Linked DNA regions of Homo sapiens: regions 2, 3, 4, 5 and 6 are each linked to region 1. The links are contacts of gene promoters, found by promoter capture Hi-C in blood cells and fetal thymus (Javierre and others, 2016). All regions are on one chromosome and are shown on one strand. The core of a region is centred on a gene start or on the middle of the fragment in contact, and the rest is flanking DNA. Distances in the headings are between cores, read along the strand shown.

The links. Contacts are between HindIII fragments. The CHiCAGO score rates a contact against its expected background, and 5 or more counts as called.
Region 2: a contact is called between a fragment that was not itself captured here and the fragment with the promoter of ARAP2 in region 1, in 2 of 17 cell types (M2 macrophages and M0 macrophages). The highest score is 10.2, in M2 macrophages.
Region 3: a fragment that was not itself captured here is called in contact with the fragment with the promoter of ARAP2 in region 1 in 1 of 17 cell types (monocytes); the score reaches 5.0 in monocytes.
Region 4: a fragment that was not itself captured here is called in contact with the fragment with the promoter of ARAP2 in region 1 in 2 of 17 cell types (M1 macrophages and M0 macrophages); the score reaches 8.3 in M1 macrophages.
Region 5: a contact is called between a fragment that was not itself captured here and the fragment with the promoter of ARAP2 in region 1, in 1 of 17 cell types (M1 macrophages). The highest score is 5.8, in M1 macrophages.
Region 6: a contact is called between a fragment that was not itself captured here and the fragment with the promoter of ARAP2 in region 1, in 1 of 17 cell types (M0 macrophages). The highest score is 6.0, in M0 macrophages.

The regions. Positions count from the first base shown.
Region 1 is chr4:36,241,872-36,246,024 of GRCh38, reverse strand. It overlaps ARAP2 (ArfGAP with RhoGAP domain, ankyrin repeat and PH domain 2), which reads left to right and starts at 1,511. Exons shown (of 33, transcript NM_015230.4): 1 at 1,511-1,846. It overlaps LOC439933 (a long non-coding RNA gene), which reads right to left and starts at 1,909. Exons shown (of 5, transcript NR_122079.1): 1 at 1,814-1,909; 2 at 715-853. RefSeq lists a silencer at 1,136-1,715. The HindIII fragment of the contact is 5,605 bases long and covers 1-2,648 here.
Region 2 is chr4:37,395,529-37,400,021 of GRCh38, reverse strand. All of the region lies in intron 3 of NWD2 (NACHT and WD repeat domain containing 2), which reads right to left. Among named protein-coding and RNA genes, the nearest start is that of PGCKA1, 56 kb to the left of the region's middle. The HindIII fragment of the contact is 3,453 bases long and covers 1-3,398 here.
Region 3 is chr4:37,448,093-37,452,283 of GRCh38, reverse strand. NWD2 (NACHT and WD repeat domain containing 2) reads right to left here. Exons shown (of 7, transcript NM_001144990.2): 7 at 2,821-4,191. Among named protein-coding and RNA genes, the nearest start is that of PGCKA1, 3.7 kb to the left of the region's middle. The HindIII fragment of the contact is 2,993 bases long and covers 1,134-4,126 here.
Region 4 is chr4:37,378,072-37,382,837 of GRCh38, reverse strand. The region is part of intron 3 of NWD2 (NACHT and WD repeat domain containing 2); the gene reads right to left. Among named protein-coding and RNA genes, the nearest start is that of PGCKA1, 73 kb to the left of the region's middle. The HindIII fragment of the contact is 3,670 bases long and covers 831-4,500 here.
Region 5 is chr4:37,424,066-37,428,482 of GRCh38, reverse strand. All of the region lies in intron 3 of NWD2 (NACHT and WD repeat domain containing 2), which reads right to left. Among named protein-coding and RNA genes, the nearest start is that of PGCKA1, 28 kb to the left of the region's middle. The HindIII fragment of the contact is 2,230 bases long and covers 516-2,745 here.
Region 6 is chr4:37,354,831-37,359,597 of GRCh38, reverse strand. It overlaps NWD2 (NACHT and WD repeat domain containing 2), which reads right to left. Exons shown (of 7, transcript NM_001144990.2): 3 at 3,116-3,232. Among named protein-coding and RNA genes, the nearest start is that of PGCKA1, 97 kb to the left of the region's middle. The HindIII fragment of the contact is 3,035 bases long and covers 1-2,949 here.

The DNA.
Region 1 (4,153 bases), core at 262-2,761:
GGGGCTCAGTCGAAAACAAAAACAAAAACAAAAAAGAGAGAGATAAAAAAAAAGAGAGAAGTATGTGAGAATTTGGAGAGGGAAAAGGGAAAAAGAACAAAAGAAACACACACACACAGAGAATGAAGCCAGAAAAGAGCCACATAAATAAAATTCCTCCTATAAATGCTATAGGAATCCAGAGAAAAAGTTCCCGTGGTTTGGAAAATGTCAATAAAACTTTCCTGGTGGAAATGAGGTCGGCTATGAGGTATTAAGTTCAAAAGGAACTGGATATTTGGTGTCTCTAGTAAGACAGAGCTGCTTCAGAGTCTCCCCAGGGAAAGACGGTGCTTTGGGCAGGTAGTTAGTGTGGGTGAAGGTGATGACTGAAGAATCCTAAGGGCCCAGGCTTGTGGGAAGCCTCTCTCTTTCCGCACTTCACCAATTATCTCATTTTCATAAGGTCTGCGCTTTCCTTAATTGCTTCACTTCCATCAACAGGAACAGGGGAAAGATAAATACATTTCACCTTTTAATGAAGAGAATTTCAGGTAGTCTGTGGGAGATGTTTATAAAAAAAAAAAAAAAAGCTGGTAGGGGGCAGTGTCTCACGCCTGTAATCCCAGCACTTTGGGAGGCCGAGGCAGGTGGATCACTTGAGGTCAGGAGTTTGAGACCAGCCTGGGCAACAAGGCGAAACTCCGTCTATACCAAAAATACAAAAAAAATTACCTTGGCTGATGGTGCGCGCCTGTAATCCCAGCTACCTGGGAGGCTGACGTGGGAGGATAGCTTGGACCCAGAGGCGGAGGCGCAATGAGCTGAGATTGCCTCACTACACTCCAGCCTGGGTGACAAAGTGAGACCCTGTCTAAAAAAAAAAAAAAAAAGTAGTTGGTCTGTGAACTCACTTGCAAATAACTGGATTTTACGGACGCTTAGATATTTGGAGGTCCACAAGGGTTCTTTGGGATCCCCTATTTTCCTTCGCTGCCTCCTTTGTCAGAGTCCAACTCAAAGGGGAAATGCCCCTCTGGGATCTAACCGCCACAGGTGCAAGAAGGAGCAAATTTACATAGAAGCAGCCTGGGGAAAATAGTGCCCTAGATGAGTCTTCAGTTTGGGAAACGCTGAGCTAACACTTTAAGTACTTGGAAGAGTAATACTAATAATCAGTCGTGGCGAGGTTCCGCCCATTTGACATTCAACCCCCCATGAGTGCGCACAGACAAACCCACTGGCCAGGAGGAGCCAACACAAGGTCCTGGGCATCTCCGTCCCGGGAAGGTGGGTAATGCCCCTGTCGCTCTGGGCTCCAGGGCGCGCCCCCGCAGCTTCCCCAGCGGGGTCTGACGCCTCCGGGCCGAGGTGCGCCAGGTGGCGAGGGTGCCAGGCGCGGCCAAGTCGCGGCGGTCTGAGTCAGTCACCCAACTATGCTGCGGAACCAGGGAGGCCGGCTGGGCCGCCCCCGCCGTTGAGCTCCGGCTTCCCCCGCGCGGGGCGCCTGCTCCCCGCCCCCGCGGGCGGAGAGGAAGCGGCGGCCGAGGCGAGGCGCGGGAGCACCTGAGCAAGGCGCGGGCGCCGGGCTCGGCGTTTCCGGAGCTGAGCGCGGGTCCGCGGCCCGCGCTCCCCGCCTCCAGGTGCGGCGGCCGCGACACGCCGGCCCCACTAACAGCGCCGCCCGCGCGGCCGCCGCCAGGCAGCAGAGGCGACTGCGGACAGCCGGCGGGGACCGGGAAAGAGGAGGCCTGGCGCCTCCGGCAGAGGGGCGAGGACCGAGCGCCCAAGGCTGGGAGAGACGCCGGCGCTGAGCTTCCCAGCGCCGCCTCACCTCGCTTTTCGAACTCCGCGACCCGAGCGCAAGGCGAGTACCCGGGGCCTCGGGAAGGCTGGGCCGGGATGGCCCACGCGGGGGTGGGAGGACCCTGTCTGGAGGGGCTGGGGCTTTTCGACACTTCACCGGGTAAATTTCCTCAGCGCAAAGTGCTCGGCTCTGGTGTCCGCCCCTTGGATTTCGCTCCCGCGTGTGGGCGTCTGAAAGGAAACCAGAAGCCGGTAAGTGATCCAAGAACTCCACTTCTGGGATTTGACCCGGGAGGGTGAGGATCCGGATAGACAGCTGGACACTCCCTCCATTCCTCTCCCCTACCTTTAAATAAGAAGAAGCTGTAGTGAGTTTCAGGCACCAAGTTATTTACTCGGTAGAGATCATGAATTTGCCCGGGTGTCTGTGCTGCCCCGCACCCTGCTTGTTAACCACGTTAAGACGACTGGCCTGTTAATTAACTTTAATTACGATCATTTGGCTTCCACCTGCCTGAACCCGATACCTTACACGGGAACCTGTATGATGTGAGTTTACCAGATTGATCTTTCTTGTTTACTTTTGGAGACAGTTCTCTTGGGAGAAGTGGTGTCCATCCTATTTAATAAAGTAAGTTTTACTTTATCTAATTCTGGCTTGTTTTCTTAAACACCTCCTACCTTGAGGTGATCTGGAGTTATTTTGATTTGGGGAAAGGGTTCGTGGATTATATAGCCTTTGATAATTAGAGGAAAACACAAGAAAATAAGCTAATTTGTGTGGAATAATGACATCTTAGGGTGTTGTAAGTAGGTATCCTGATAGCAAATTCTTTTTTTTTTTTTTTTTTTTTTTGCAAGCTTGTCCTTGAAGTAGGCTGTTCAGTAGAATACAGCCTTCGGTTTAAAAAAAATCAAGAAGTGTATTGAAAATAAGCTATTTTTAAAAGTACATTTAATAGGATGTCATTGTTATTACTCATAATAGTATTGTACTTACAAGCTCAGTATTGATTTATCTGCACTTAAGCACTCTACACCCCCACAGGCCCATGGAACTTTGCCCGTAAGTAATTGGAAGATAAAAAGCAAGCTAACTTTTTTTAAGGAAAAAAAGAGAAATACCTTTAAACTCTTTTTTTTTTAACTCTTATTTATGACTTCCATACACTTACAGGAGAAATATTGAGAGAAAATACTCATGACATTTTTTGTCCAACAACGTTTAAAGAAGAAAAAAAAGTGGGTCATGGAACTAGGCTAGGGTTAAGTGCAAATATCTTCCTGGCTTCTTTCTAAACATATTTAACACATACACATTTAAGGTGGTTCCTAACACGAAGAGGGTTTTATATAGATTTGTCAGTACTCAAAGATTTATTTGAATTAAAATGTACCTAGAGGGTAAGTGAGAGAGCTTGTTAAAACGTATTTATATGGGTGTGTGCTTGTGTTTGTATTTTTTCCTTCGTCTGTAAACCTGTCAGATTTTATGTGGCTTGTCTGTAAAAGGAGAAGCTGATGGTACGTTTAAAAACAAATTCTTGTTTTTCTAATATCACTGCAAGCTCCTTGCAGTGTAAGGCTCATGGATATGCAATAATATCAGATCCAACTATTCTTGGATACTGTGGAGAAGTATAGAACTCAGATTATAATGAATTACAGTTTTCTTAAGAACTTTAACGCATTGAAACTATGAAGTTTTAAAGTCTACGTAGAATTCTGGGTTATAGACTTCATGATATATGAGAAGTTTTTTGTTGTTGTTGTTGTTTCGTTTTGTTACTTTCTAACCCACCTCCCTGCAACTGTGAGAAAGTTTGGTGAAAGTGACTATAAAAATGCTAAGTATAAATAATAGTCATTGCTTTAATAGTTTTCTTTTAGCATACATTTCCACCTGTCCTCATTTATTTATTGATACATTTCTTGGATACAATCTTTGCACATGCTACATTGTAAGAGTTTTGGGAATTCTTGGTGAAATATTAATTAGGTAGAGAACTTCTTAATAATCTGGGAAATATGTCTTAGCTTTGACCACATATGGTGGATGTGAGATTAGAGGCTATGAGACGCTGTCTTAATCTTTTCTGCAAAGTTCTGGACCTTGTAATTTATCATTTTAGTTATTACTTGTAAGTATTGGCCAGATTAAATATATAATGGTAGTTAAACCATTTTGCTCACTTGTTTCTTCTTTAAATGAAGCAGTACTTAATGGTATTCTCCTCACGTGATCTTTTCTAGTTAGAAAGTTGTCCTGTGAAATTTTGTTTCAGTTTCTGTTCAGCACAAGCTTACTTATTTACCCATGCTGCAGAGAAAACAAAGGAGGCCTGATTTGGGTTGAAGCAGTGGTTTA
Region 2 (4,493 bases), core at 423-2,922, 1.2 Mb before region 1:
GCTACTTACTGATTTAGAAAATATGTGAGACAGAAAGGAAATGTCTAAAAGTTTCAGAAAGGAAAACCTGGTCTAGTGATACTCGAACCTGAGCATGCATCAGAATCATGCATCTGGTGAGCTTGTTAAAACACCGGGCCTCTCCCTAGAATTTTTGATTCTTTAGTTCTGGAATGAGGACAGGCAATCTGCATTTCTAAGCAATTCCTAGGTGATATAGATGCCACTGGCATGGGACTGTACCTGAAGAAGCAGCATAAAATTACAATCCCAAGTAAAAGCATAGAGTTTAGGCCTTAAAGAAACTTACAGAAATTAAGTTTGTTCTGGAGAAAGAGGATAAAAAAGAAAACCATGTTACCACCCCAAAAGATTGAGTCAGAGGTCACTTCACATCAACAATAGGCAGAATTGGAGAAAGAGGTCTTAAGTGGGAAAGAGAGCTATTTTAAAACTAGGAATAAGGGAAATATTGGGCCACCAGGTTAAATGAGGGATTTTTCAACTGAGTGATCTCAAAGAGAAATCCTTCATCATTTTAATTCAAAAGTAGTAACTTTAAGATATGTAGCTAATAAAATAAGGGCATTGGAAAGAAGCCAAAAAATTCTTTTAAAAATACTTATCTTAACCAAGGTGTCTGGAATTAAAAATAATATAAACTGGGGTTAAGCTGAATCCAGGCCTGTTCCTACTATATTCTTGGAGCCAGAAGATGGCCAGAGAGGCTTAAAAAGTGAGGTCCACTGCCTCAGCCACCCATGAAATGAAAATGTGATTGGCTCTGCTGGTGTGACAAACTCCTTATCTAGATATTTCTTGAGAGACTTGGGTGGGAAAATTACAAAGCCATAAGCATTGACCTTCATATGTGGACCTCATCTGCAACGTCTCTAAATGTGCAACTAAAGACACAAGCCGCCATTTAAAAAGAACATTAAATATGTTGCTTTCAAAATTCAGTATTATAAAATGTGTACCTTTCTTGATGAACTGTCATGCTTCGTTTTTATCATATGATGAAAAATGTGAAATTTACTATGTTCCACTTTTTGTCATGGCAGCCAAGAAATCCCATGTTGTCTTCTGTTCACATCTGGCGTTTTCCCTTGAAGGCATTTCTGATATAGTTGTTTCTCCCTAGCTCCTTATTTCTTAGCCAGCATTCATTTTTGTCTCTTTTAATGTGGAAAAAAAAAGCAAAGGCAAAACTAAAAACTTACTGTTTCTTTTAATATAAGTTTCTGTTAAATTCTTTTTGGCATAGATATGATTATATATAGTGAGTTAAAAAAATATAACCCTGTTTAGTCACGAATACTTGCAAAGCACATAAGAGTCTGTTTATAAAGATAAGGCTGACCCTAAAGCAGGATGTCCTTTTTAGGGGCCAAAGGTTGTGGCAAAGACCATAGGCTTTGAATGCAGACTTCTGGGATTTGAAACCTGTCCCTGCCATATTGGTTGGGTGACATGGTTTGCTGCACCTATGAACCCGGCATGTAGGTTTTAAACTCTGCATGCATTAGGTATTTGTCTTAATGCTCTCCCTCCCCTTTCTCCCCACTCCTCCGACAGGCCCCAGTGTGTGACGTTCCCCTCCCTGTGTCCATGTGCTCTCATTGTTTAGCTCCCACTTATGACTGAGAACATGCAGTGTTTGGTTTTCTATTCCTGTGTTGTTTTGCTGAGGATGATGGTTTCCAGCTTCATCCATGTCCGTGAAAAGGACATGAACTCATTCTTTTTTATGGCTGCATAGTATTCCATGGTGTATATGTGCCACATTTTGTTTATGACCCTGGATAAGTTATTTAACCCCTCTAGGCCTTGGGCCTTAGTAAAATGGCCTTAACTGAAGTACCAGCCTCCAAAGAATCTGGTGAGGATTAACTGATGTTTGAATAGAGTGCTTTGAACAATGCCTGCCCATGGTAAGTATTTGGTAAATGTTATCTATTTTAATTCAAAGTAGTGGTGATGAAACTGTGCAACTCACTCAGTTGCGGAGTTAAATGGTGCTGCTTCAATGCATGTTTCTGGACAATGACAGATCTGTTTTCAATTTAGAGTTGATTTGGAAGATAGGCTTCCACCAAATGAGTGCTCACAATGAGACCCTTCTACAGCCATAGCATGGCCAATGCAGAACCCAGAGGCAGTGGACAGAGAGAATAACAGAAAGATGCAGTAGAGGAGGGAGGGAGAAAGAGAGAGAGAGAGAGAGAGAGAGGCTGTTCCCAGGGTAACAAGTTGCTAGGGACAAACATTTGGCAAGGGGTACTGGCGAGAAATTTCCTTCGTCAAGCAATTTCCTTCAACAATGTCTAATGAAAGTGATCTGTACTTACAATGAACCTGAGAACGCTGGGGAATTGGTAATAAGGGCTCTGAAGTCACCTTCACTCCAGAACGAGCTACTTTATGGGGGCTGGCAAGTCCGACTCTGCAGGGCAGGCTGGCGGCTGGAGAACCAAGGTGAGAGCTGGGGTTGCAGCTCAAGCCTGAAGGTAATATGCAGGCAGAATTCCTTCTTCCTGAGGGACCTCAGTCTTTATCTCTCAAGCCCTCTTCAACTGATTGGATGAGGCCCATCCACATGATGGAGGGTAATCTGCTTTACTCAAAGTCTACTGATTAAAATGTTAATCTCATCTAAAAAAGTACTTTCACAGAAAAATACAGACTGGTATTTGACCAAATACCTGGGTACTCTGGCCCGGTGAATTTGACACATAAAACTAACCCTCACAAGGACTTTCCCTAAACCTCAGGATTTTCATTAAAACCTGAAGGAAGGGCAATAGGCTATTGCAACACTGTAATGAGAAGCTCCTAGACACACCTGCTGGGCTGACTAAAAAGTGGCCACCCTATTCCTGAGATGCTCATCCCTATCACCAACTCCCAGGCTATCTCACTGAAGACTGGAGACTGGAGAGGGATTCATTCCAGGAAACCAGAGGAGTTGCTTCGCTTTTTTTTTTTGCAACAGAGTTTCACTCTTGTCACCCAGGCTGGAGTGCTATGGCACGATCTTGGCTCACTGCAACCTCCGCCTCCTGGGTTCAAGCAATTCTCCCACTTCAGCCTCCCGAGTAGCTGGGATTACAGGCATCCACCACCACACCCGGCTAATTTTTGTATTTTTAGTAGAGATGGGGTTTCACCATGTTGGCTAGGCTGGTCTCGAACTCCTGACCTCAGTTGATCCACCCGCCTCGGCCTTCCAAAGTGCTGGGATTACAGGGGTGAGCCACCGTGCCCAGCCTCGCTTTGCTTTTTACTTTCCTCAGATTGAGTTCCACTTCTCTCATCAAGGGAGGGAAGTTCCATCTGTAGAGACTGGGCAGATCACATTTGACTCCCTGACTGAGACCTGTTGAGCTGAAGAAGCTTATAGAATCCTCTCCAGTGAACACATCAGGTGGAACACACTTAGAGATTTCTTGAGAGAACCTGAGATGTGGCTCCAGGAGCTTTGGAGGATTTGAAAATATGGAGACTGGTTCCTGCTTCCCTTGTAAAGAATAGTGACGGCAACCAACTATGGAGAGCTGCCCATGAAGTCAGGATAAGGTAGCCTGTGCTTCCAGAGATGGGCATGGTCAGGGGTAAGGAGGTGTGAGTTTCCTGAATTAGAAGGCATGACAGAGTCAGGCTCCAACCATCTTAAAGGGACTTCATCCAACAGGGCCACATGCCAGGGCGAGGACTCCACCAGTAAGAAGAAATAAGGTGGATTGCTGGGGTAGGAGTGGAACTGGGGTGGTAGCCCTAAGAAGACAATCGGATAATATCATTTGTGTCAGGAAGGAGAGTTCCACTAAAAGCCTCCTCACAAATGAGCTCCATGAAAGAGCTCCCAGTATTTGTGCACCAGTCATGATGGCATGCAAGACGGCAGGCAGGGTTGGCTTAAATTTGTACAACCAGCATACTGAAGGGGCTGAGCTCAATTGAGGACACATAGGAGAAGGAACAGAGAACTTGGAGTTTGTTTTGTTTTTTGCATCGCTGCCTATAAATGTGCATTGCTGAATTCCTTCCCACTGGGGAAGCAATACATCTCAGACAGGTGCTATCAAGATTCACTTTCAAGTAGTAAGTCCAAGCCAGTCCAAATCAAAATGTCAGTCCCACACCCAGTTTAAAGGGTCTGCCTCTCCCAGAGGTCGCAGTGAGCCGAGATCATGCCATTGCACTCCAGCCTGGGCAACAGGCTGGAGTTTTTGCTCCTTGTCTTCTATTTCCCCTTCCCTTATATTGACCTGAAAAACGGAGAAATAGTACTTTGAGGTCCAGAAGGCTGGGAGTGGGATGAAGGAAGAACAAAGAGGGCTGATCTGAGAATTGACAAGGCCCCTTCCCCATAATGGATCTGAGAAATTGAACCAAGGAGAGGCAGACTCTTTTTTTTTTTTTTTTTTTTTTTTTGAGACAGAGTTTCGCTCTTGTTGCCCAGGCTGGAGTGCAATGGCATGATCTCGGCT
Region 3 (4,191 bases), core at 1,381-3,880, 1.2 Mb before region 1:
ATGCAAATTCTTGGGACCCACCCCAGACGTATTGATTCAGAAATAGTTGGGGAGGGAGGGTGAAGAAATCTGTGTTTTAGCAAGTGGTACCTACTCCAGTTTGCGAACCGTTGCTCTGAATATGCACAGGTAGCTGGCGAAGTTCCCCTCATCTATTAAATAGTAAGGGCTGGCATTCTATAAAGCTAGAGGTGCTGCTTTTATTTGTATCCCTAGATTACCAGTTTTATGTAATCTGTCATGTTGATACACTGAAACTGAACCCTCCATGTGTCCATACAACGTGTAATCTGTACTTCTTGCAGATCTCTTGGAATGCCAAATTGAGATCTGAGGGGCCCTTGTAAAACATATGGAAGAAAAACCTATGGTTTCTTGATGCACACCAGGGTGAAAACACCATGATTCACTTCATTTTTTAGGTGTGCCCATGTTTTCACTGACATGTAAATTGTTCCCAGCCAATGAGTCATGAAAGATAGGAAAGCTAATTTTTTTGAGTGGATTTATCAACATGGTTCCAAATTTGTGAAAGAGTTCTAAAAAACAAACAACATTAAAAACATTATGGTATCCGTTTATGTTATAGCCCAAAAAACTCCCCACACCATATTAGGCATTGCAGTAAGGGCTCCTTGCAATCCATTGCAATCTCCTTACTGAGAAAGAAAGAACTGAGTGGGTTTTTATTTGAGTTTTCTCCATGGGATAGATAGACTATTTCTAATGGGCTAGATGGATGTCTTACTTTTAAACTCTCTAGGTCCAAGTTTGTTTTGTGATTTTCCCCCACTTTCATCCCCTGTTCACTTTACATTTGTAATTCTATCTACTCAATTCCAATTGGAACTGGAATTATTTGAGTTTTCCCTCCCCTTCATCAAACACCTCTATCCATTAAGCCCTGAAATAAATCTTGAATTGCCCCTACTCTAAGCAGGTTCTAAGATCAGGTTCTAACACTTTCTAACTGAGATCATGGCCATGGTCTTTACTGGTCTCCCAGCTTCTGATCTTTTCCATCTGAAAGCCATCTGACAAAGTAACTGCCCTTCCCCAAAACTTTTTTTCCCAGCTCCCTGTTGAAACCAGCGCAATTTTCCAACAAGCCAAATGCCCATAGCACTGAAGCTTGAGAAACTTACACCTGCTGCCTGTTGACCAATTCCTCTTCCTTAACCCTCCCTAATTCCTGTTTTCCTATAGGAGGTTACAGTGAGATGCTAGACACCTGCTGCCTATTGAGCAACTCCTCTTCCTTGCCCTGCCTGTTTTCTCCCCCCATATAAACCCCAACTTTAGCCAGGGGAGATTCAGATTTGAGTCTTGTCTCCTGTCTCTGGCTGATATCACCCATAATAAAGCCTTCTTCCCTGACAATACTCATTGCCTTAGTGATTGGCTTTCTGTGTAGTGAGCAACAGGACCTAGGCTGGGCCCCTGGCTTTCAGTGACACTATTGACTACTGAATAAAGTCTAAAATCCCAACAGCATTTGAAGTCGCCTGAAATATGCTTCAATGCCCATTTTTGCTCATGCAGCTTCCTTTACCTGAAATGTCTCTCTGACATTGACAGCTAAGTCCTAATTATTCTTCTAGCCTCAGCTCTATCTCCTCTGGGTCAACCTTTTCGATATTCAGGTAGTGTTAATTGCTCCTCTGTAGTGTATCCTCAGCACCTGGCTCTCACTCTTACTAACTTTGAAATCAGTCTCATCTGGTTTAGCTGTGTCTCTTCTAGACTGTAGGGTTCTGGATGGCAGGAGTCATGCGTGACTTTTCAAATCATTCCAGGATCTAGCATAATGCCTTGGGCATAGCAAGCATACAGTGTTGACTGTTGTGTTCTTGGCTCTAGGAAAGAAGATATTTAAACAAACTCTATTTATTTGAAATGCTTTTTTGCAAATATTTATTAACTTCTCTACATTTTCTTTGAGAACTAAAAGGAGAGGGGTTTAGCCTTTTCAACCTAAAGATATTACCCTTTGTAAGTAATGGAATTGTTTTCAGTGGTGGTAAATTTTGAACACGTTAGTCTCAGCCATGTGATGCAGGCAATAAACCAGAATAATTTATTTTCGTAACACATTAAAGTTTCTCTGAGAACAATTATTTCATGACAACTAGATACTAGCTTTCAGATTATTTCCTATGTATCATCACTTAAGCTCACCAATACTCCTCTGTTTCTGTTTTTTAAAAATATTTTTTGGTGCGTGTGTGGATTCTCAGATCCAAGAGGCAAGAGATGGAAGAAAGGGCATGTGGGAAGGCTCCCCTTGGTCCTGCTCGTTCGCGCAAAGGGAATTTATGAGAGAGACAACTCCTCAGTCATCACCCTTCTTCTCCTTCCTCCCCATCCTTCTATTAATGAATTCATCAACTATTTCTGTATACCTGAAAAACGTGAGAGTTTGCAGCAAATTTCAGTGATCTTCAGAGCTAGCCCAGTCTCCCACCTGCAAGTTAGAAAACACCTTGCAGGTCATTATTGATCTCTAAGTGCCTACTAGATACTAAATGCTCTGTTTTGATGTACTTTGAGAAAGTTAAGGAAAAAGACACTGAGAGTGCACTGAAATCTTGTTCAGCTATTCTCCCTGGACCCGTTTCTAGGTTTCTTTACCTATACATTTGGAATGCTAACAGTACCTACTTCACAGGGCTGTTGTGAAGTTTAAATGGCTTAGTACATGCAAAGCTCCAAGTACAGTGCCTGGTGCAACATAAGCAGTAAGCATGAACAGTTATTATTATTACTGAAGGTCTCTAATCACATCTGCCAAAAATGGGGGAGAAAAACAGCACGCCAATCTAAGTAGTTTATCTTTTATTCATACAAATAATACATACACAAGACTGTATATTGTTTGAAGACTGAAATAATTTTCTAGTGTAACAACTCTGTAACAAAATTTAACTAAATGTAACATTTATGAAAATATAAATCTCTGATTGGGTAATTCTTCCCAACGATACAAAGTTTACATAAAAACATTCAATATGAGCTATCAGTTGCAAACAAGTTAGGAAAAATCATTCAAGTCACTTGTATACTCTATTGGCTTTTACATAGAACATTCACATACTACATTTAATCCATCTAGGCATTTAATTCTTAGAAATGTGTGGCATGGAGGTTCAACTGATAATGACAGGAATGAGAATGTGTTGCCTAAAGAGCTCAAAAGCATAGACTCATATAATCAACTCCAGGTGATCTGTATGTGGTTTGCCTTCTCTGGGCTACCACCTCCCTGGCTAGTAGCTAAACCATAAGTAACATACTGAAAAACATCTTTCACTATGGACCTGGGTATTTTTATCTGAATCACATCTTTGAACGCTTACATGTTAAACTGCTTTCCAAGAGGAAATACAATTGACCTGGATTCTCTATGGGTTACATGAATTTATTTTTCCTATTAGCATCAATAATCATGATGTTGCTGAAGTTTTTCTTATACTGCTTCCCAATGTCCCTATGAGGGCTACAGCAGAAACTATCACTATCTTTATTTTGCACTTCACAAAAACAACACACTGATGAAGTTAAAGACCTGTCTAGGAATACACAATGAGTTTATGGCAGAGCTGGGCCTAGAGCAAATCAATTCCTTGTTCATTATTCTAGTAAAGTGTTACTTCTCTACTTTCTAAGAAAACTAAACTCAACCAAAAGTGTGGATACCTTTTGAAAAGTTATCCAAGGACATGCCGTAAGGAGGATATGGAAGAAAGAACAATCATCTTCACCTTTTGAGATGCAATGTTTTCTTTTAAACAGGTGAATTAATTTTAAAAAATATTTAATACCATTCCACAGCTTCTGCTTTGAAATGGATAGGACTATAAAAGGCTCAGAAGAGTCCTCAATCAGGAAGAGTAACAGATAAAGAAGCATACAGATGGTGTGTAGAAGTAAGAAAGTGATTACAAACAAGGACAATAAAGAACTTTTGGACACCCTTAAGATTTATGGAATATTTTAGCACAAAGACAGGCATATTCAGTTTATCCCAGAGTATTTGGTCATCTATCTGCATTTTACACAGGAAAGAGAAGGAATGTGAGTAAGGCAAACGTCATCAGTATCTCAGAGATGGCATGTTGAGAAAGCTTGCTTTCTATGAAGACTAACTGCAGGAATTTAGGGAATATTTATGCTTCCATACAAACTGACCAA
Region 4 (4,766 bases), core at 1,416-3,915, 1.1 Mb before region 1:
GCGCCTGTAATCCCAGCTACTCGGGAGGCTGAGGCACAAGAATTGCTTGAACCTGGTGAGTGGAGGCTGCAGTGAGCCGTGATCACGCCATTGCACTCCAGCCTGGGTGACAGAGCCAGAGCCTGCCTCAATAAATAAATAAATAAATATATAAAAAATAAAAATAAAATTTCAGGAAATTCTCCAGCTGGAACAAATTTGTTGATTCAGTGAAAATCATTCCTCACTGCAGCATTGGGAGGCTAGAAACCCGGGCTCACAGGGGAAAAGGGGAGAGAGAAGTGTGGAACATTACCACTGAGGAAACTCTCAAATAAAATTTGATGCTGAGGTTGCCACCATTCCAAATGTCGAAATTTGCAAGGCAGGAATGTGTCAATGTCATGTCTTGTGATGGAAGACAGTACACCTAGGGAAAAACATCCTCCTTAATATGGTAAACAGAGGGCCAAAATCAATCTCTTGATGGCAGCATTCTCTTAAATAAATCTAGGTTCACTGGAGTGCAGGTGTAGTGAACCTAAATAATCTAGGTTCACTGGTGTGCAGGCGCAGACCCACTGACATCCTGGCAAGGTGGAAACCGGGACTTTCCTGATCTCTGTCTTTCACTTGCTACCCCTGAAATCTCTGCTGTGGTTTTTGGCAACACAAAGTGTGGATTTGCGAAATACAAGTATGCCTGGACTAACTTCTTTAGGGCCTTGGGCTAACTTGTTTTCTACATTTCATGGGTGTTTGCTGTGTTTTCTTCTCTCTTGAGAAATGTAAAATTTTATTTGTGAGATGCTGGAGCAGTGACACGCATCCAGGAGAGGACAGTCCAAGCTTGCCCACAGTGTCACGAATGTCTCTGAATTAGACTGAACAGATAAAATATTCAGATCAATTTTGAAATTTAAAAAAATGTTATCCCACAAAAGCAAGAGAATTTTCTCTTCAACATCAATTCTTTTGAAATGTGACTTAACTACTTCATAGTTGAATTCTTTGGAACATTGATTTTTAAACTTTAATTTCTCCCTTTGTAATGAGATTTATATTCAAATATAGAACTGTTTATAGTATTTTCATTTCACTTCTGCAACAGATGGGCTGTCATTTCAGCTTGGTACAGAACCTCTGAAGTTGGAAATGTGGTTACAGGTAAATGGGGATGGGAAATAGAATACAGATTGACTTTAGATGCAGAGTAGCTTTGGTATTAATTTCATAATTGTGTATTTCTGTCCTGTTTGGAGCTTTCAGAGGATAAAATAAACACAGCCAAGGGAGGATGCCCAAAGCAGCAGTAGTGGGCTCTGAGGGAGCGGCCTCATGGAGTTGGAGGTAGTCCTGCCCTGACAGATGTTAATCTCCTCGCACTCCAGGTGGCAGCCATACAGAGGGATAACCCAGAGTCTCAGTGGCTGATCCCAGTGACGCTGAGAGAAGACAAACCTGGGGATGTTAAATGGGATTCGATATCCCACTCCAGGTGTTTCTATTTGGAGGAGCTCCATTAGATTAACACCCGGGGCTCTTCTCCACCTTCACTCACTCCACCCAGGAGAGCAGGAGTCACTGATGGTGACGTGGGAAGAGGAAGTGGGATATGAGTGACTCGGCCCTCTCTACCTCACTCTGGGCTCTGTCTGCTCAAATCCATGCTAGCTGTGCTGGAATTCAGCTCAAATCCTCCACAGGGCACATTTCAGGCTTCTTGGGGTGGGGCTAGGGCTTGGGGGGAGGCTTGACGTGTTAGGATCACCAGTGGGTGGTTCATTCTGTCTCTTGAAAGATTATTTTGCTCGACATTAGGATCTAAGTCATTTCCTTCAATAGCTTTATCATAAAAAAGGTGAGATTTTAATCTCCATCTACCTGATTCCTGCAACCACCTTTCAACTGGTTCTGAATTTAAGCAGGAGAAAGAAGAGCATTTCCTGATTGGCTAAGTCCCTAACTCTTGGGCTCCATCAAGACTGGGGGGAACGTTTATCTTAAATAGTTTGTCAGAATCAATACAGAATGTGGATGAAGCCTCCGAATTCCACCTGCCTGCTCACATTCTAGCTTCATCACTTGCTAGCTGTGAGTACTTAAGAAATTAAAAACACCTCTCAAAATAGCATTTGTAATATGAAAATAATGTAGTACTTACTTCACAGAAGTTTTGGTGAAACAAAATGAGATAATGTAGACTATTCATGAAATCCACTTTTTTTTTGGCTTGTGATTCCTTAGCATATAGTTCCTAATAATAACCATAGCTAGCATTTATTTAAGGCATACTATGGGTAAGACCCTGTGCTAAGCAACATAAACACAATATCCTATTTGATCTTCATAAAAATTGTATAGTAAGTTTTAATATTATTCAAACTTTATAAATGAAGGAATTAAAGCCTAGAGGGAGAAAAACATTTGTCCAAGGTCACACATTATATGATAGAACAGATATGTAAATACTGATGGTCTGATTTCAGAGTCCGTACTCTTAAACAGTCTCCCCCAAAATAACATCTGCCATTTATTGACTGTCTACTGCAGCACACATTAGGAGCTGTGTCTCATGTAATTTCCCCAATCCTAGGTAGGTTAAGAGTCCGGACTTTATCGTCAAACAGATGTGGTTTTGAATTCCAACTACAATTTTCTAGCCTAGTAGCCCTGGAGAAGTTAATCTGAACGTTTATTTTTCATCTGTAAATTGGTATAACAATACCTGCAACTCACAGGGTTGCTGTAAGGATTACGTGAGAAAATGCTTAGTGCTTGACTCACTAGAAGCAATCAATGAAATGCATTAATTCTTATTCTTATTTTAGAGATGAACATAGAACAAGTGGCGGAGCCAAGTTCAAATGCTTCTTGCCTTTACTTTTCGGTTGTTTCCAGTAATTTCTGCTCTTTCCAGTGCTAATATATGTAATATATATATATCTGAAAGATAACACGGGGTAAAGCAGTGGGCTTCCAGTTGTATTCTATGGAGCCATTTAGGGCCTCTGCGGGTGGGATGGAAATAGGTACAGGTAGGAGAGAAGTCCAAGTGCCCATCTGTCCCCTACTAAGAACAGTTACACCTTCATTTGTAACAGAGTTTGATGCAGTTTTTATTTAATGAAAGTGTTCCTTGGCAAAACAAAAACAAAACCTCCCTGAGAGCCACAGGCTTGCAGTCAGGAGGCCTCGGGTTGGGACTACTTCATCATCTACTCATGTACGGTCTGGGTTAGTTCTGCTCCACAATTCCGTGTCTCAGTGAACCCACACCAACAAAAAGCATTATAAAATCTGAATACCTCCTGGAGGTATTTAGAGGATTAAATAATAAAACATATGTCATGTGCTTTTTGAAATACAAAAGCATGACACAAAAGGGAATGTACCCTGAAACTAGGCTATTAGGGTTTGAATTCCGGCTCCCCACTTACTGTGTGGCTCTGGGAAAGTTACTCAACCTCTCTGTGTCTCTGTTTGTTCTGTGAAGTGCAGACAACAGTACTATCCTCATCATTCTGTTGGACGGACTAAATGGCTTAAGTCCTTCCAACAGAATTATGTTGGATGTGTTTGCTACATTTATTCTTAGTCTTAGATTTGACCGACTACATTGGCTCTGACCATCACAATTCTTCCTGTGAAAAGCCTGCAAAACAGACCAGAAAGTGTTATCCTTAGGTATAAAAACCACTGGATAAATTTATGAACCCTGTCATGTGGTTTTCCACTGAATTACCAGACCACTAGAATGAAAGATTTTTGGGGGAGTTGAGTGGGGTAAGTGAGGAGTCCAGATTATCAAGGATTTGGCAAGTTTCAGATTTCCTTTCCACAATTAGCTTGAAAGTTGAGTTACAAAATGTGAACTGCAATTGTAAGTAGCTTTATAACCTTAACACAAATGAATACGAGCAATTCCATTAGTTTTATAGTTTCTACTTGTAAAACTATCAAAACAAATGTTTGTTCCCAAAGCAGCTTTAAAACAACAAATAAATCCTTGTGAATTTCAGCAAAAAGCCTAATTCTTTAAACTTCTCCATTTTTAAAGAAATCTGTTGTTGAGCCCAGCATTACAGAAAAAGCCTAATTTTTTATTTTTATGATTTACAAAATTACATTTAGAAGGACACATGGAGTGTATAAAAATAAACACTTTCACAAGAGTCACCAAATGACAAGTTCTTCTGGCTCAAAGGTCACTCAAATTAAGAAAAAAAATAAAAAACAAACCATTCAGGGAAACAAGGCAAAACACAAGTGCCAGCAGAATGGTGATTGTGTAACAAGTTGGGGAATTGTCCTAAGATCCTGGCAAAATTAGGTTAGAATTTGGCTGGCATTTGCCATTGTTACATGGGAAAATGGACTTCCTTCCGTTCTTGGAATTGTGGTCCACCATCCAAAATGGACAACAACTGACACCCTGTCACAATGTTCACTTTCTTAACCAAAAGTTTCTAATACTATGATTTTGGGGGGACTGTTTTTCATTTTCTCTTCGAGGAAGCTTAGATAATAAAATTGAACTTAAACTCGTCCATAAAGATGACTGTCATATTTATTTCAATTCAGACATCAATATAGGAGAGCAGAATAATGTTTTCCAAATCAAAGCCAGTTAATATTTTGTGAAGTGGTTGTTGGCAGGGACGTGGAGCAGACACAGGAACATAAGTTCGGGAGGGTGGGATATAGGTGGATGAAGGGCATAGAGAACCATAGAATATTTTCTTAATCATAATCAAAGTTAGGCTTAGAAATCCATTTTTTAATTA
Region 5 (4,417 bases), core at 381-2,880, 1.2 Mb before region 1:
CACTTGGTATTTCAATTAATCTTCATCTTATCTAGCAGAAATAAGGAGGGAACACAAAGGACCTCTTACATAACCCTACAGTAACCAAAGCAATTTGTCTGCTTTATTGTATCCATGAGACACTTTCTGTTCAATCTGGGGGCATTTTTCTTCTTTCCTCTTGTTGATTAGCATTTTAGCATAAACATCAAGCTGTGTTTATCCACTGGAAGGTGAATTTCAGGTCTGGTTTCCCTAGGGGGCATTTCTGACTACTTCTATTGCCTATCCAGTATTCACAGTGTTCTTTTCATCTGATACAGGCAGCTGAAAGATTAAGAGAAGTCCTTGGTAGATCTGTGTCCACGTAAATTCATGACCTAAATTCTACAACACAATGGTAAGCTCTCTGAGGGAGAGGCCAGAGCTGTTTATTCCTAGCTCATAGAAATGATTAAAACACATTTGTTGACTAAATGAATGAACCAAGACAGAGAAAGAAATCATTAAAGTTTGTTCTGCTCTTCTCTGAAGCTTCTTTCTGTAGTCAAATAAAATAGTTCAGCTCTCAATAGGTAGAGTAACAATTTGGGAAGGTACCAGTTTTGTGAGCAATACTCAATTCAGCTATATTCCTTAAGCAGGTACTGTATAAACATATCCCTGGTTGGACCATGTCCTCTCTCTCTCCTTAGCACATAAGCCATCTCATATAACTGGTTTACTGAAGGTGACTGTGGGTAACTGAATTCACTGCCTCAAAGCTCAAGCCTCCTCAGTACTGGCCTCAATGACCAGAAAGGAAGTAGATCTAACCTAGCTGTTCTTTTTGGCTGCAAAAGTCCCTTTAGAAGGGGCTAGAATGGAGGGATGCCACATTATTGGTATCTATTATTTCAGCATGGTATATGAGGCTTCTACAGAGGGTGTGCTAATCCCAACCCACTGTATTAGCCTGAAGCCCAATTAAGAGCACTTCTATTTTAATCTACATTGGGCCAATCTTGATAACAGGTTTATGTAACACAAATGATGTATCTCAAGTTGTTTCCCAACTTCTAATGGTTCCCTCTTCCAAAATCTCTTTTGCTAAGCAAATAGGCATGACCTTTTATTTTATCACACACACAGAGGAACATTATCTCTTTTAGGGTAACCAACCTGGTGATTATCCCATTATCTTGCCTAATTCTGGACACTCAGCACTCTTTGTCAGGGTTGTGTGCCACTAAGAATGAGGTTTTAATGCTCGGATGTGCCATCGAACAGACCCACATGGGCAAAATAGGGAATAAGAGAATGTCTAAGCAGTAGGCATTGGTAGAATTCAAGAAAGTATACAGATGGAGTTTGGTCATTGGTGGAGGACCAGGTAGACAGGCAGCACATTAAATATGGGATTTAGTAATTGACAACACTCCATCTAGTAGCCAATTAGGTCTTGGAATATCATGGACTAGCTACTACAATCCAAGGCAAGACCAGCTGGGTTTTGGGCATGAAGCAGGGAAGAGGAAAAAAGAGAGAGAACAGAAACAAGATCTTGTCCCTGGACAGCACCATCATGACTGCACAGCAATGTACTGTTCGTTCTTCAACTTCTTTCTGCTCTAAACAAGGCTGGTCTTAGAGACTAGGATTCAGTCAAATCTATGGATTGGTTCCTAAAATATGCTCCACAGATCATCTACTGGATGATATGCTCCCTGGATCTCCCAGGGTACTTGCTAAAATGTAGGTTGCTAGGTCCATTCTCAGATGGAAAGAACATTGTGAGTGAAGATTCCAAGGAAACTGCATTTTAAAATGAGGTTCCAAAGGAATTCAGAAGTTGAGAGCCATTGCTATGGGCAGTGCATATATGGTCTCATGAGGAATGGTTAACGAGTACTGAAGGGGCAGAGCCTGGACCACAGAGGATCATTTCAAAAATCAAGAGCTATTTAAAAATAATAATTTCTTTCAGTTGAGCACCTGGCACCAAATACTGTAATTATTTAATCGATATAGTAAGGCAGAATGTTCCTTAAAGATTACTAAAGAAGAAAAAATATCCTCATCCCATTCAAATAACAAATACATATTGAGTGCCTACTATATATAAAGTGGTAATACAGAACTTCAGAAAAGTAATAATATGCTACAGGCTTAAAGTTACTTATTGGATTGTTCTCCCTTACTCTTTTCCTTCTCTCTATTGATTCTTCCTTTAGGTGGAATGCTCATAAATCATGAATCAGTTAATTTTTAGGAGTCTAAGACAGGATTCTACCTCAGTCTTATCTTGCTATTTGAGAAACAGCAAAAGTGAATTTTGCTTCCACATTTTTCAGTAAGATATTTTTGGTTTGTGTATGTGTGTGTAGTTACAGTTCTAAGATAACACACAAATATTTACAAATAAGGCAATGCACAAATATTTTACCAGGACCAGAGTCAATTTAGAGAAGGGGGCAGTCCAACTCAGTTGCAAAGTCCAGCTCATACGGTCAATGGACCAGAGCAGGGGTGGAGATGGAAGACCAAGTTCAAGAGGCTAGCAGCTAAACTCTAGGCAGCAAGATGGATTCCACTGTTTTGTTTCCTAATTAGACTATTCGTTAGATCTGCAGCCATGGGGAGTATCCATGAATGACTTTAGGGCAGCCACAGCAGCTATGAGCAAGAAGGCATCCTTCTCTGTTCACTGGCAATAGAGTATTCATTCCAGCCACTGAAAGAGAAACAGATTTTCCACATCCTTCTGACCCCAATTCTCAAAAAGCTTGCTTTTTGCTTAGTTAAACCAACTTTGCCAGTTTGTAGGGAAACACTTGGTGCAGAGATGAGAGACTACATTGAATTTTGCATTGAAGTCCACTTTTATGAGTTACACTGTTGATCCATCTGCCTATGACCCTAGACAGAAGAAATGCATATGACTGAAAGAATTTTCTTTTTATTGAATAGTTTAAACATTCTGTCAATACATAGGTGAAAATAAACACATGGGATTTTGCCTGTCTGTAGAAATCTATAGTCACCTCTCTCCCATCCACCTTACCAAATGTGGAAACACATTTAAATTGGCCTATTCTTAAACACTGAAGACACATAATATCAGCTAGGCAGAAAGCAACAATACAACACTCAAATATAATCTGGGGAGTTAAGTCCAAAAGGCTGAAAAATCTAAGAAAAATTTATCAGACTTTTATGTAGTTTCTGCATGTATAATTCTAGAATAATAAACACTTCCTAATGGTTTGGAACTGGATAGAGGTGGTGTTTGTACAACACTGTAAATGTAGTAAATGTCACTGAATTGTTCACTTTAAAATGGTTAATTTTATGTTGTATGAATTTCACCACAATTAAAAAATACTTTCTGAACTATTGAGCTCTTTAGAACTAGGAACTTAAATGTAAAAAGACTCTCTACTTTTTAAAATCTCATTTTCCTTCTTTATATGCTGATATAGCTACATCTAAGCCACTGCTTTCAAAGGCTTAGAGATAACATTTTCCCTCCTCTCAATTGATTTTTTTTCTTTTCCATTGGGCAAATATTGATTTCTCTCCACTCTGCTCTTCATGTGCAGTTAGCTCTGCTGCAACTGAGAATCTTTGGGGTCTGAGTCTGTGGCATGCAGTTTGTATTGTACCAAACAGAACAGAGGAATAAGTATTCTTGAAGGTGTTGATGAGCTCAGTGTGTCTTTGACTTTACTCTGTGGTGGGATGTCAGGAAAGACAGGTGAGGATAGAGTATTTGGGGTTATGGATGCCATGTTTTGTTGGGCGTGAGGCAGCTGCTCCCTGGACTGCTGTTTATGAGCCATTGCTCATGGGAGAGCTGTAAAGGAAAAGAGATCTCCACTCATCCTCCTCCACAAACTGGTGCTGTAACAAGCTGAAGCATATACTCTTTAAATGCCCTATTCTCCCAACCTAATCACTGAAGCAAGGCAGGTGGGTCTGTTTTTCTCTTTCTAGAAGCTTCTATTTATTAAAATAAAATTCTATGATTTTATGCATAATTTTCCTTCATATATGATTCATTTGACACTCAAGAATCTGTGAAGTAGGGAGAGACACTAAGGCTCCCAGACCTCAGCAGGCTTGCCCAAGGCCATGTTTCCCAGAAGACATGGTAGTACCAGCAACTGAATATGGGGCTTTAAATTTAATAACCCCATTCTTTCTACTTCATCAAGTTATTGTGCTACTTCCTCTTCTGAGAGTATCTTAGAGTAGCTCATTTGATTGTGATAGCTCTTGTAGGCAGTACCCTTGGCAGGGCTACCATGTATGAATGTGCACCCTGTGTACTGCAGAACTCCATGGGGCACTGTTCACAAGGACTATGGCATGTTCAATGTTATAGCCTTGGGTGTTGGTATTCTTTCTACCTGATTTATTCTTTTGGGTGGGAGGACAATGGTGGTTGTGATGTATT
Region 6 (4,767 bases), core at 183-2,682, 1.1 Mb before region 1:
TTCAGCAGTGGTGAATTTCCTTGCCAAAGACTTCAGCATTAGGGGAAGTATTATGTTAAGCTCTGCATCCCACAGGGGTCATCATGACTTCTAGAAATATCCACAAGGGAGCACTGGGCGAGGAAACTGGAGCTTAAAAGTAACACACACATGCCAGTTGTCACCGTAGTTACAACAGGAAAGGCCCTAAGAGGAGTACTTTTTTTTTCTTTTTCTATAAGCTGTGAGATACAAGCCTTGTGTGATTTAGGATCGCTGGGGTGAATAATCCTAGCTCTATCTGCAGGGTTTTATCGTGGTTTCCCTGAGTTTAAACATGTAACAGGGGAGCAGAAGGAGGGATAAATGATTTGTTTATGCTCAATAAAGATGTTGCTGCTGTTCTGTCAGCTAACCTTTGCTCTCATAACCTGCATAAACTTGCAAAGTCTTTATTTATTCTCCTACCAGCAAATTATTGGAATTCATAGTCATGTCTAATTTTAGTTAGCTTAGGGATGGCACTCAACAGGGTTATAAAAGGGGGAGAACATCTCTCTCATTCCTGAATTTCCAAGGCTGGATTACGGTAAAGCTGTGGAGATCACAGTAATTGAGGTTTCCCAGGACACTCCCATAGTGGGTTATGCTTCCCAAATCTGGCTTTCTAAGCATAATGGAATCTGGCCTAACCTGTCTTCCAATATTTGAGTCTCTTCTATAGCACCCCTGTCACAGTGGTTTGTGTTCTTCACTTTGATAAAAACTTTTTTGGGGATGCATCATTACAGTTTGAGCCAGGTGATTTCATCTTCAGGCAGCTGTGATAGATAATAATACACAATAAGAAACAACGAACACTTTTTAATGGATTACTATGTGTGAAATACTATAAAACTGCCTGTAATTTCATTTGATTCTCAGAATGACCCGATGAGGTAGATAACTGTTATTATCACTTCCATTTTACAGACAAAAAACTGAGGCTTAGAATAGTGGAGCAACTCCTGCAGTGCCACACAGCTATGAAATATCAGGTCAGAACCCAGGGATACTGGATCCAAAAACCTGAGAGGAAGCTATATATCCTTTAACTTCTTCACCCAAAGCTGAAATCTGCTTCCTAGTTCTATCCTCCAATGACCCAAGGAAAAGAATCTCTTCCGCTACTTGCTCTTCAGATATTTAACACAACTTTCAGGCCTTCTTTTGCATTCTTTTCAGGCCACAGGACACTGTTTTTCGGTGTTCGTTCCCCCAACCCCCCCAAACCACGTATTTTTCTCATTTGGCTTATTGCAGTAGCTCTCTAAAGGTCTGCCTGCTCTGTTCCCTATTCTTCACCCAGCAGCCAAGGCCATGCTTAAAATACAAGTCAAATCACTTCATTCCTCTGCTCAGAACACTTCTGCAGTTTTTCCTGTCACTCGAGGTAAAACCTTAAGTCAACTTGAAGATTACAGAATTGAATTGTCTTACTGAAATTACCTTTCCAAAATCGATGGTTCCCAATTATGCTGAGCCATAACAATAGTCTTCTTAGTCTTAAAAATAAAAATATTCTCTTAATCATAAAAGATGAAAAGGCCCCATGATACGTTCCCCATATCCCATGCCCTCCTCCCTATTCATACTTGTTCTAGGCACAGAGGCCTGCTTGCTGTTTCCTGAACATGCCAACCCCTCTTCCTGGAATACCTGACTTGGAATATCCACACCTGGTTCTTTCCTGCCCCTCTTTCCATCTCCCCTTCAGAGTCACCTTATCAGTGAGGCCTCCTCTGACTGTTTTATCTTAAGTAGCAAATCTCTCCCCTCGCTGGTATTCTCTCTTTTCTTTCATTTCTCTATTTTTCTCCATAGCACTTATCACCAACTGACTTACTGTTTATCTTACTTATTTGGGTTTTGCCTGCCCTCTCCCCCTTCCACCCACATTAGAATGTAAGCTCCGGGAAAGCAAAAAATTTTATCTTCTTAGTTCAATTCTAAGGTTGAATCCTAAGGAACTGGCCCACAAAATAACAATTTCGTATGGGTCAACCTACCACACCCCCAGCACCTAAGAGCAACCCTTGGCACACGGTAGCACTCAGGCAGTTAGTGAGTAATCAACTTATCTATATATGGAATACTACAAATACTATATGATACAGCCTTTATACACTTTACTAGCCTGGGTAAGAAATTTACCATCAGCTGGTCAGATTTGTGATATCATCTCTGTAGGTCTTCCTAATCCTATGCGGAGCCAAATATAGACGGATATGCAAATAAATATTAAGAACACTTTTGCTGATATATTGAATCTAGTTTTTAACAGTACGGTGTGATTTTTTTTCATAGCACTCACTGGTAATTTTAACACTCGTCTGTCAGTCTTAGAGCAACCTATGTTCAAAGGGGCAACTTCCCTTATCGATTGGTAGGATCTGTTTGAATTCAAGGTAAGTCTTTCTTAAGCTAAATTAAGGCAGTGATTTTTGCACAACCACCTGCCATAGAATGACCTATTTATCTTACTGCCACCGTGCTAACACAGAGGAGTGAGTATTCTTTAGAAAATAACGATGAATTAATAATAATGTTCCACTTGGAATATCTCTGTCGATCTTTAGCTTATAATGAACATGTAGCTGAAAATCACTGTAGAAACAAACATTTTCACAGGGCACCATTTGCTACTGGCAGATGAGACATAGTATATTTGATTTACTTTAACAATGTTTCAGCCATTTTGTTAAAAAATGCCAGAAATTCTAGCGTTAAGAACTAGAAGCACTATGATGGAATATATTATACAATAAGATAAGAAAACCTAGGATAATTATTGTAGGTCTGAAAGAGTAATCCTTATTGTTGATCACAAGGTGTTGTAGAAATTGTTGTCAAACCCAAGTCAATCCCTTTGATTACCAGTTCAAATTATTCACCGTTAATTGGCAGCACTTCTTATGGAAAGTTGAAGCTTTTTGTTCTCATACATTGAGAGCCAGGAGACAGCTTAAAATGTTTAAATAGACATAAAAAAGTCTTTTTCCCCCTCATTTAAAAAACCCCTTATGAATCACAAATCAGCAATAATTCTCACATTCATCTAAAAGTTAATATAAAGCATTAGTTTTTTTATACCCACAACAAAACATGGACCTGCAGAAGTTTTCAAGCAATTCTCCAGCAGCTTCATGCGGGTCTTCTGGAGCTCTGGGCTGTCCCACTCATCTTCTTCCACTCCCCAGTACAGATCTATGACCTGGGGACAGATGGATGAAGAGCATTAGTTTACATGTGGGCTTTGTTTTTATTTACAATGTCAAGCTAATGTGACTTTTAACTTTTCTCTTTGCAGCATGTTTTCTCTTACAGAGGGGAAGTGATTTTTAAGATCCATTTAGAGAGATTTTTCATTCCATGATGGGTTGGGAATGAACCTTATAATTTCTTCTTTTGTTTCTGATTATACTGCTGACATGGGCCCAGAGAAAATGAAATGCTAACTGTTGAAGGTTTTGGAGCACGGGCTTTTGTTGTCTTGAAATGGAAACAGAATTTTAAGGTTTGAAGCAGCTGGCATGATGTTACCATAGTACTTGAGACAATTAAATCACCAAATGTATATAATGTTACCATAAGTATTAATTTGAGAAAAGAAACCATAATGAATATTACTATACACTGATTTCAAGTCAAACACCTACATTTCTTAAAAAAAAAAAGCCCTGTCATTATCACACTCTATCATATGAGGAGAGATATTTTGCTTAAGTCTGTTTTATCTGTAAGCAGTTTGGCTTTCATCAATATATATCTGAAAAACATGTACGGGCAAAAAAATGAAAGGTATGCCTTACAGAAAAGTGAGGATAATAGGATCCTCTATCTCCCTACTTCAAAGACTACTAAGGAAGATTCTGGCAGTCTATAACAAACTTTCACAAGTTCACTCTTTGAAAAGTGCTATGGAGAGCATCATGGATTTCATTACCTTCACTCAGCTGCTGTCTGCATAAAGTAAATGTTCCCAGTTGTAGCTTTGAAAATTTCTTCTTTTCCTTTCCTTGCTTCCCACAAGTGGAAACAAGACCCTCCCTACTCTTTTCCTCCTGCTTGCACGGCATTTGGTGAGATGGAAGCTCACAGTATGAGTTTCCCCTTGTGGCCCCAGCAGATTCTGGAGACTTTGTGTGATTCCCATTTCTTGGCTATGGGCCCCCACAGATCTGGCTTGTTCCAGGTCTTTGTCTAAGTGCATTTGAGTGTTTTAGAAGGCTGATAAATAAATGACAGCTCTTTAAAAAATATTCTCATGGCCCATACCATGGGTTTTGTCATATATGAAAATATCAGCATTTTGATTTTGGGGGCTCTATGCTTTAATCTATCTTACAAAGTTTAATCACACAATACGAAGAAAGATGACATCAAAGAAGGTAACTTCATTATCCAATTTGAGAGCCTCTAGCTGGGGCTACTTAAAAGTAAATATAAATTAGTAAAAATTAAAAAATTCAGTTCCTCAAGTGCTCAGTAGCCCCATACTGGCTCTCATGTTGGACAAAGGAGATACAGAGTATTTCACATCATAATAAGTTCCACTGATCAGAGTTGTAAATTACTGAGCTTCAGAAGAGCACAGAAATCATCTAGTAATAAATGAATAAATAGGGCTATAAAATAGTCTAATTTGTTAAATAATGGACAGGCCATAATTTGCAAAGGGTCATGCTTCCAGAAAATGAAAAAGTAAAGAAAACATTTATGGCTTATCTGTTGTTAATCTTTCCAGGT